3 separate regions of the Homo sapiens genome follow, and all the other regions are linked to region 3. Evidence: promoter capture Hi-C in 16 types of primary human blood cells and fetal thymus (Javierre and others, 2016). All regions are on one chromosome and are shown on one strand. Each heading gives the region's core, a stretch centred on a gene start or on the middle of the fragment in contact. The rest is flanking DNA. Distances are from core to core; before and after follow the strand shown. Region 1 overlaps SEZ6 (seizure related 6 homolog). Region 2 overlaps PHF12 (PHD finger protein 12). Region 3 holds the start of TRAF4 (TNF receptor associated factor 4).

The links. Contacts are between HindIII fragments. The CHiCAGO score rates a contact against its expected background, and 5 or more counts as called.
Region 1: a fragment that was not itself captured here is called in contact with the fragment with the promoter of TRAF4 in region 3 in 2 of 17 cell types (endothelial precursors and fetal thymus); the score reaches 5.8 in endothelial precursors.
Region 2: a fragment that was not itself captured here is called in contact with the fragment with the promoter of TRAF4 in region 3 in 9 of 17 cell types (activated CD4 T cells, naive B cells, non-activated CD4 T cells and 6 more); the score reaches 11.0 in activated CD4 T cells.

The regions. Positions count from the first base shown.
Region 1 is chr17:28,957,670-28,960,369 of GRCh38, reverse strand. SEZ6 (seizure related 6 homolog) reads left to right here. Exons shown (of 17, transcript NM_178860.5): 8 at 478-672; 9 at 898-1,036; 10 at 1,149-1,345; 11 at 2,229-2,423. The region is part of intron 1 of LOC105371716 (a long non-coding RNA gene); the gene reads right to left. Among named protein-coding and RNA genes, the nearest start is that of PHF12, 7.5 kb to the right of the region's middle. RefSeq lists enhancers at 421-921, 922-1,422. The HindIII fragment of the contact is 1,160 bases long and covers 863-2,022 here.
Region 2 is chr17:28,934,487-28,937,186 of GRCh38, reverse strand. The region is part of intron 2 of PHF12 (PHD finger protein 12); the gene reads left to right. All of the region lies in intron 1 of LOC101927018 (a long non-coding RNA gene), which reads right to left. Among named protein-coding and RNA genes, the nearest start is that of PHF12, 16 kb to the left of the region's middle. The HindIII fragment of the contact is 7,754 bases long and covers 1-2,700 here.
Region 3 is chr17:28,742,604-28,745,303 of GRCh38, reverse strand. It overlaps TRAF4 (TNF receptor associated factor 4), which reads right to left and starts at 1,293. Exons shown (of 7, transcript NM_004295.4): 1 at 1,049-1,293. The coding sequence starts at 1,191. It overlaps NEK8 (NIMA related kinase 8), which reads right to left. Exons shown (of 15, transcript NM_178170.3): 15 at 1,849-2,700. RefSeq lists silencers at 815-1,014, 1,035-1,444, 1,899-2,193 and enhancers at 1,899-2,193, 1,217-2,217. The HindIII fragment of the contact is 4,112 bases long and covers 1-2,700 here.

The DNA of each region.
Region 1 (2,700 bases), core at 193-2,692, 210 kb before region 3:
CTTAGGCCCCCTTTCCCTGCCCCTCTCTTTGGGTCCGGGATCCCTACCACAGCTTTGCAGGAAACCTCTGCCTGGACCCAGGCCCTATGGTCCAAGGGAATAAATTCTCCAGATTTTGAAAAGCAAAAAAGGCCTCAACCCTTAAGAAAGAATTGCTGTAAGAGACATTCTAGAACCATTTATGCATGCATGCATTGATTAATTCATTCAAAAAACATGTATGGAGTACCTTCTGTGTACTAAGCACAAAACCAGGCAGTGGGAACAGGATGGTAATCAAGATGGCCTCCTGAGCATAATAGGGATGGATGCTCTTGGCTGTCCCTCCTCCATCACATTCCTGCTCCAACCCCAGGACATATATTTGTCATTCGTACCCAGGAAAAGAAAGGCTCTGGGGAGGGAAGTAGGGGGATGCTTGCCCACTGTGTTTAATACCAGTCAAGGCTGAGCTGGGCTGGGACCTGTGGTTTACAGCCTTCCAGCAGGGCCATTGCTATGAGCCCTTTGTCAAATACGGTAACTTCAGCAGCAGCACACCCACCTACCCTGTGGGTACCACTGTGGAGTTCAGCTGCGACCCTGGCTACACCCTGGAGCAGGGCTCCATCATCATCGAGTGTGTTGACCCCCACGACCCCCAGTGGAATGAGACAGAGCCAGCCTGCCGAGGTCAGTAGACACCAGTGGATGGGCCTACCGGGCAAAAGGCAGGGTCATACCAGGAGAATAGCAGCAGAGCCCGGGGCCACAGGGGCCCTGTGATATGCGTGGTTCAGGCTTCCTCCAAGGAGGAGGTGGGGGGTCCCAGCAATTTGTGGGCACTCCTGCGGGCAGATGGTAAGCAACACCATGGTAAGCTTGAAAAGACCCTTCTGGGCCTCCTCTGCCTTCCAGCCGTGTGCAGCGGGGAGATCACAGACTCGGCTGGCGTGGTACTCTCTCCCAACTGGCCAGAGCCCTACGGTCGTGGGCAGGATTGTATCTGGGGTGTGCATGTGGAAGAGGACAAGCGCATCATGCTGGACATCCGAGTGTGAGTGCCTACCGGGTCAGGCCGAGCCAACTCCTGAGGTCTGGGGATATCCCTTGTCCAGCCCATCCTCGGGCCCCCAGGCCGGCTCTGCCCTGACGCTCCTCCTTCACAGGCTGCGCATAGGCCCTGGTGATGTGCTTACCTTCTATGATGGGGATGACCTGACGGCCCGGGTTCTGGGCCAGTACTCAGGGCCCCGTAGCCACTTCAAGCTCTTTACCTCCATGGCTGATGTCACCATTCAGTTCCAGTCGGACCCCGGGACCTCAGTGCTGGGCTACCAGCAGGGCTTCGTCATCCACTTCTTTGGTGAGCTTGTCCCTACCCCACTCAGAGTGCAGACAGCAAGCCATGGCAAGCCAAAGAGGCTAGGGCAGTGAGGTGCCTGAATGCTGTCTCAGACAAGAGTAAGCTGGAAAAGCACCAGGGATCACCTGGAGGAAGCTAGTCCTGTTCTCCATCTGCCCTGAGGGAGAGCCAGAATTCTATAGTGGCAAGAGGGGTTTGGGTAGGCAGCAGAACAACTTTCTTTTTCTTCCTTTTTTTTTTTTTCTGAGACAGTTTCCCTCTGTCACCCAGACCATGGTGTGATCTCTGTTCATTGCAACCTCCACCTCCTGGGCTCAAGCGATTCTCGTGCCTCATCCTCCTGAGTAGCTGGGATTATAGGCACATGCCACCACGCCTGGCTAATTTTTTTATTTTTAGTGGAGACCGGATTTTGCCATGTTGGCCTGGCTGGTCTCGAACTCCTGGCTTCAAGTGATCTGCCCACCTCAGCCTCCCAAAGTGCTGGCATTACAGGTGTGAGCCACTGCACCTGGCCAGAACAACTTTCAAACAAAAATGGGGGAACTAAGGAAAGGTGCTGGCTTCTATCTTTCTGACAATCTTTCATAGAAGTGACGATTTCCCTCACCCTACCTGGCCCCATCTCTCAGGCCTAAGGAACTGGTCAAGGTGCTTTTGGAAGTAAGGCCAAAGCTTAAATGCTAACCCTGGAATCTAGGAGACAGAGCAATGTCAGGCAGTCAAGGAGGGGCCCTTGAGCAGGGAGGAATGGATCCCTGAGCCCGCCCAGGACAGTCTAGGTCCAGGACAAACTAGCAGGAGCCAGAGTGCCCTCAAGGTGAGGGGGACAGTCACTTTGGTGCTGGCCGAGGGCCTGCATCTTGTGCCTCTGTGCCCCCAGAGGTGCCCCGCAATGACACATGTCCGGAGCTGCCTGAGATCCCCAATGGCTGGAAGAGCCCATCGCAGCCTGAGCTAGTGCACGGCACCGTGGTCACTTACCAGTGCTACCCTGGCTACCAGGTAGTGGGATCCAGTGTCCTCATGTGCCAGTGGGACCTAACTTGGAGTGAGGACCTGCCCTCATGCCAGAGGGGTGAGTATACCTGTTCCCCACGCTCCCCTTCCCAACACAAACTCCAAACCTCTCTCCTGGATTCTGAACCAGACTGTAGCTGTTATTAGCTAGTATCTTCAAAGTTCCTTCACCTCTTATAGCCTCAGTTTCCTCATCTGTGAAATGGGGATGATACTTTTCATGGGGTTATCAGCCACGTACTCTAAGTATTTCATTCCTGGTAGATGGCCAATCAGTTTTTATCGAACCTAATAGATGGGAAGGGGACAAATGGGGGGACACACTAGCATAATGG
Region 2 (2,700 bases), core at 10-2,509, 190 kb before region 3:
GGCATGCACTTTAAAATTTGGGTGTATTAATGCAACTTTTAATTTAAATTAAAATTTAAATTAAACTTTACCCAGCACCACTTAGCTTTTCCAGGACATAAGTTTGTTTTCGTTTATAAAAGGCTGGTTCTCTGTGCTCATGGCTCCCTTTATAGAGCAAAATGGCTGCTAGGAGGCTGAGACATGATTGTGGTCCTTTCAGTGATCACCTTCACTCCCCATTTTGGCTAGTATCAACACATTTTCTGAGCTGGATGAGGGCCGCAGGGCCAGTCTGAGGGAGAGTAGGCTAGTTCTGAGCATGTATTTATGTTTTGCAGTTTGTCTTACACAGTGAGACTAAATATAATTGCAGGATTTTTATCTGGTAGTGGTCCTCAGATGGATGGATGAGCCCCGTGAACTGTGAAATTAAAAATCAAAACTGCTCAGTCCTATTGTTTGCTTGCTGAACACCTCTTCCCCCACCAAAAAAAAGGGTGGGGAGGCATACAGATGATGATAGGGGCAGTGAACTCTTTCTTTTTAGTCCAACTGATGTTTTATTTTGACTGAAACTGAAACTGCTATAGATGGCTAGAGAGCTTCTGATTCCTGAAGAATTACGGGTTCTGACAAGAAAGACCCTACCAGTTCATGTGACTGACCTCTTTTGGAAGAGAACCTGCTTAGTAGGCTGTTGGTGTATTGTATATGGATATGCTATTTACATAGTGTTCCTGTTAAGTATTTGTATTAAATAGAATTATTTTGTTAATCCAGAAAGAGAAAATGGAGTGTACTTTTTCTTAAATATTTTTCATCTACTTGCTTTCTCTCCCTCTACCTCTCGCCTCTTCCCTTTGTTCTCTTATTCCCCCATCCCCCGCTCTCCCCTCCAATTCCAGACTGAGAAACTGCTTGTTCTGGATGGATAATTAACATGGTGCTGTGGAGCAACAGGTCCCACTGGTAGCGACTAAATCTGAAGTAAATGTTAATGTCGTGCAGGTTCACATGTATTAATAGGCGAGGGAGATGAGTGAGGTTAGACTCAGATCAACCACACTGGTATATGACTTGAAATAGATCCTCTTAATTAGAGCGCCAAGAACCATGACAACTACCAACATCTTCTACTTGCAGTGTTGAGCTGCAGCCTTATTAGTGAATGCAAGGCATTCTAAATTAAAACTGAACTTTAACCTCGGGCTGAGAGTTGGGATCATCTGGCTCTGGGCTTCGATTTGAATCTTTGAAACAGAAATCTGTCAGTATAGGCATTACAGTTAGCTGAGGGATGTATGTTTGTGGTTTTCTCCTTGATGACTCCAGAAATAGACTGATCTAGATAACCTTCTCAGCAGTAGAGATGGGCCATTTGGATTTGTTTATGGGAGTCTAGGTATGTTGGAGTCATGCTGAAGAGGTTGGCTTTAGGAATTGGTTTGTATGTTAATATTACTCTTAACACTTTGTAGGCCCTCTAGGCCTCACAGAGAGCCACACCAAACTGAGAAACATACCCTCCAATTGAATGTACAGTCTCTGAAGATTTAGGGCTTTACTGTTATGAACAGCTTTATAACTAACAGCATGTCTTTAAGATCAGGTAGTGGTTAAAATAGTGAGCTGGGGCCAGGAGTGGTGGCTCACACCTGTAATCCCAACACTTTGGGAGGCTGAGGAGGGCGGATCACTTGAGGTCAGGAGTTCAAGACCAGCCTGGCCAACGTGGTGAAACCCCATCTCTACTAAAAAGACAAAAATTAGCCCAGTGTGGTGGTGCATGCCTGTAATCCCAGCTACTCAGGAGGCTGAGGCACAACAATCTCTTGAACCCGGGAGACAGAGGCTACAATGAGCTGAGATCGCACCACTGCATTCCAGCCTGGGCGACAGAGTGAGGCTCCATCTCAAAATAAAAAAATAAAATAAATAAAATAAAATAGTGAGTTGTAAAAGCAGTGAACGGTCGCTTTCTGGCCAGGAATTGTAGGCCAGGGCCTTTTAACAAATGATCTGGTAGGAAATTTATCAACAGCAGTGAAAATGGGAAGATACTCTGCAAGAGCTCTGTCTTCATAGGGCACTGTCATCTCTGCCTATGGAAAAGAATGCATGTCTCATAGCAATGCAGGCTATGCTCTTTTGAAGCCAGAAAATAAAGTAGAGGTCCTTGGCTTGTTGGCTAAAAAGCTACCAGTTTTCCAAGACAAGCCAGTTCAGGTACAGAAGACAACTATTCCAGAGCTCACCATCCCAAGTACTCAGATAATTCTCAGAAGGAATCTAAAGGTTCAAACATGCTGGACACAGTGGCTTACGCCTGTAATCTCAGCACTTTGGAAGGCATAGGCGGGTAGATCACCTTAGGTCAGGAGTTCGAGACCAGCCTGACCAAGATAGTGAAACCCTGTCTCTACTAAAAATACAAAAAGTAGCTGGGCGTGGTGGCGGGTGCCTGTAATCCCAGCTACTCCAGAGGAGAATTGCTTGAACTCGGGAGGCAGAGGTTGCAGTGAGCAGAGATCGCACCATTGCGCTCCAGCCTGGGCAACAGAGCAAGACTCCATCTCAAAAAAAAAAAAAAAAAATAGAAAAGAAAAAAAGAAAGAAAAGAAAGGTTCAAACACTATTGTGCTCTAGACAGACTTAAACATTCATTTTCAGAAGAAATGTCTCCACTGCTAGAACCTTCCTTTTATCAGGTATTTTATC
Region 3 (2,700 bases), core at 44-2,543:
GGCCCAGGCTGTGGGGAACAGAAAACAAAGGGCCTGCTGAGATTTCCGCCAGTAGGAGCTACGGAGGACCGAGCGAGGGAGGGAGGCACGGCGGGAGGGAGCACCGGAGGCAGGCGTCTCAGAGGTACTATCCCTGCCAGGCCCTCGATCCCCTCGTCCCAGCAAACAGCCAGGCAGTGGCCGACTCGGCCTTCCCCTGCGCTCTGGGGGCATGACCTCCGAAGAGTCGGGGCTCCTTCACCCTGCTTCCCACACCCGGGCCTGAGGGGTTCCCTGCGTGAGCAGGAGATTCAAGACATACAGGGCGCCCAGAAACTTGATGGATGCCCAAGAGCCAAGGGCTAACCTGCGTCCTGAGAGGGCAGCGGGAGTTCAGTAACAACACGAGTGCGACCCCCTTCTTCATGACTTATGGACCACCCGCCTTACTCCAGCCCCCGGGAGAGAGGGGAGCCGCCTAGAGGGGTCCTTCTTCGGGGGAGGATTCAGTCCTTCCTCCATTGTGTGATCATAAGCAGTCCGGGTTTAAATCCTAGTTAAGCCTTTAAGTAACTATGTGACCCTGGGCAAGTCGCAGCCTTTCTTTGAATCTCGTTTCATGATCTGTGAAATGGGAGAACAATAGCTACCGTTCTCTGAACGTTCGAAGAATCAGAAGAGGTTAGATGGGGGAAAGCTCCGGAGGCTCAAACTGCCACGCGGGAGCGGGTTTTGTCCTCTTCCCCCAGGATTCAAAGTTCAAGGCTGAGGCCGCGCCGGCTCTCAGGTGACGGGGAAGGGCCTCTTCCCCTCCTGACCCCACGAGAAGGCGCCGAGGTCTTCCGCCCCGGGCCGGGCAGTTGGGACCCGCCCGGACCCCTCGGATTCCTGCGGGGGGGGCCTCCCTCGGGGCTTGACGTCATCCCTCCCCGTGACGTCACGGGGCGCCCCTGAGGTCACAGGGTCGCAGCGCAGACAAAGGCCCGCCTTGCCCCGGGCCCGAGACCCTCCCCAGGCGGCGCCCCCCGCCCCGCCCCGCCCCCGCTGTCCCCTGCTCCCCGGCCAGCACCTGAGGAACTCCTGCAGGCAGGTATCGCAGAAACGGTGGCCGCAGGTGGAAACCTGCACAGGCTCGCGCATGGGCTTCCCGCACAGTGGGCACAGCAGCCGTCGCTTGGGCTTCTCCAGGAACTTGTAGTCGAAGCCAGGCATGGCGGGCGAGCGGCCGGCACGGGCGAGCGGGGCCAGGCACGCGGCGGCCCCACAGCCCGCGCCTCGCTGGAGCGGCGCTCCCGGCTCCGGGCGGCGCCGACTGGCGGTCGCGGCCAGGGCTCGGCTGTGAAGCCCGCCCTCCGGAAGAGAGGGCGGACCGCGGCCGCGCGGTCCTAATGCGCGCCCTCGCGGCCCCGCCCACCCCCGAGTGCATGGTTTTTGGGTCTGGTGACCGCCAGTCTCGCCCACCCACGGGATCATGGGCTTTTCTTTCCCCTGGGGGACAGAGATCGTGGCTCCGCTTCTCCCCAGAGCCCGCGGGCCCCGGGGAAGTGCGGGTCGGAAAAGGGGACGGGCCGCGCCACAAAGGTTTTCTTCTCCAGAGGCAACAGCTCGGCCTCCGGGGCCGTGAGCAGCCCAGGAACCGTGGCCCCAGCTTCCAGGTGCTAGGCAGCCGAAGCCTGGCAACCAGCTCCGGGGAGCCCAGCTGGGGCGGGGAGGCTGGACTGGGCGCTGGGCCAGAGGAACCTCGGCCCCAGCCTCCGGCTGCGCCCACATTCCTCCCTTGGCCGCAGCCCTGCCACCGAGGTCGGGCCCAGCCCAGTCCTGGGGTGCCTGGTCGCCACCCCCACCCTTGAAGACACCACACTCCAGGCAGGCAGCTGATATTTTTATTGGCCTTCCTGTCCTCTGGGAAACCGGTCTGGTCCCACCAGCTACCCATTCTCTCAACTGTTTCTGGGGAAAGGCATGGGGGGGACGGGCAATCTCCAGCGCGGATCTTTTCTGCAGCACTTAGTGACTCCTGCCCTCCTGCTGGGGAAGAGAGGCAAGCCGACGTCTAGCAAATCCTGCCTCAGGATGAAAGTGTAGGGGAGGTGGCAGCACTCCCGGGGACCGCCCAGCCCCGGGCTATGCAGAAGCTAGGCAGGCCTAATGGCCAGTCCAGGCAGGCCCTGGCTTGCCCTGCTCCAAAGTATGGAGATAGAGTCCCGGTAAGCACCAAATACTTTTTTTTTTTTTTTTTTTTTTTTTTTTTTGAGAGGGAGACTTGCTCTGTCATCCAGGCTGGAGTGCAGTGGTGCGATCTCGGCTCACTGCAAACTTCACCTCCCGGGTTCAAGGGATTCTCTTGCCTTAGCCTCCAGAGTAGCTGGGATTACAGGCGCCCGTCACCATGCCTGGTTAATTTTTGTATTTTTAGTAGAGACGGGGTTTCACCATGTTGGCCAGGCTGGCCTCAGTCTACTGACCTCAAGTGATCCGCCCGCCTTGGCCTCCCAAAGTGCTGGAATTACAGGCGTGAGCCACCGCACCCAGCCTTATTTTCTTCTTTTTTTTTTTTTTTGGTGGAGACAGCGGTCTCGCTATGGTCCCCAGGCTGGTCTCCCAACTCCTGGCCACAAGGGATCAAGGGATCCTCCTGGCCAAAGCACTGCCTATGCAGGTGTGAGCCACCGCCGCCGGCCCAGACTTATTTTCTAACTGGGCTAGGGGAAAGGGTAGGGT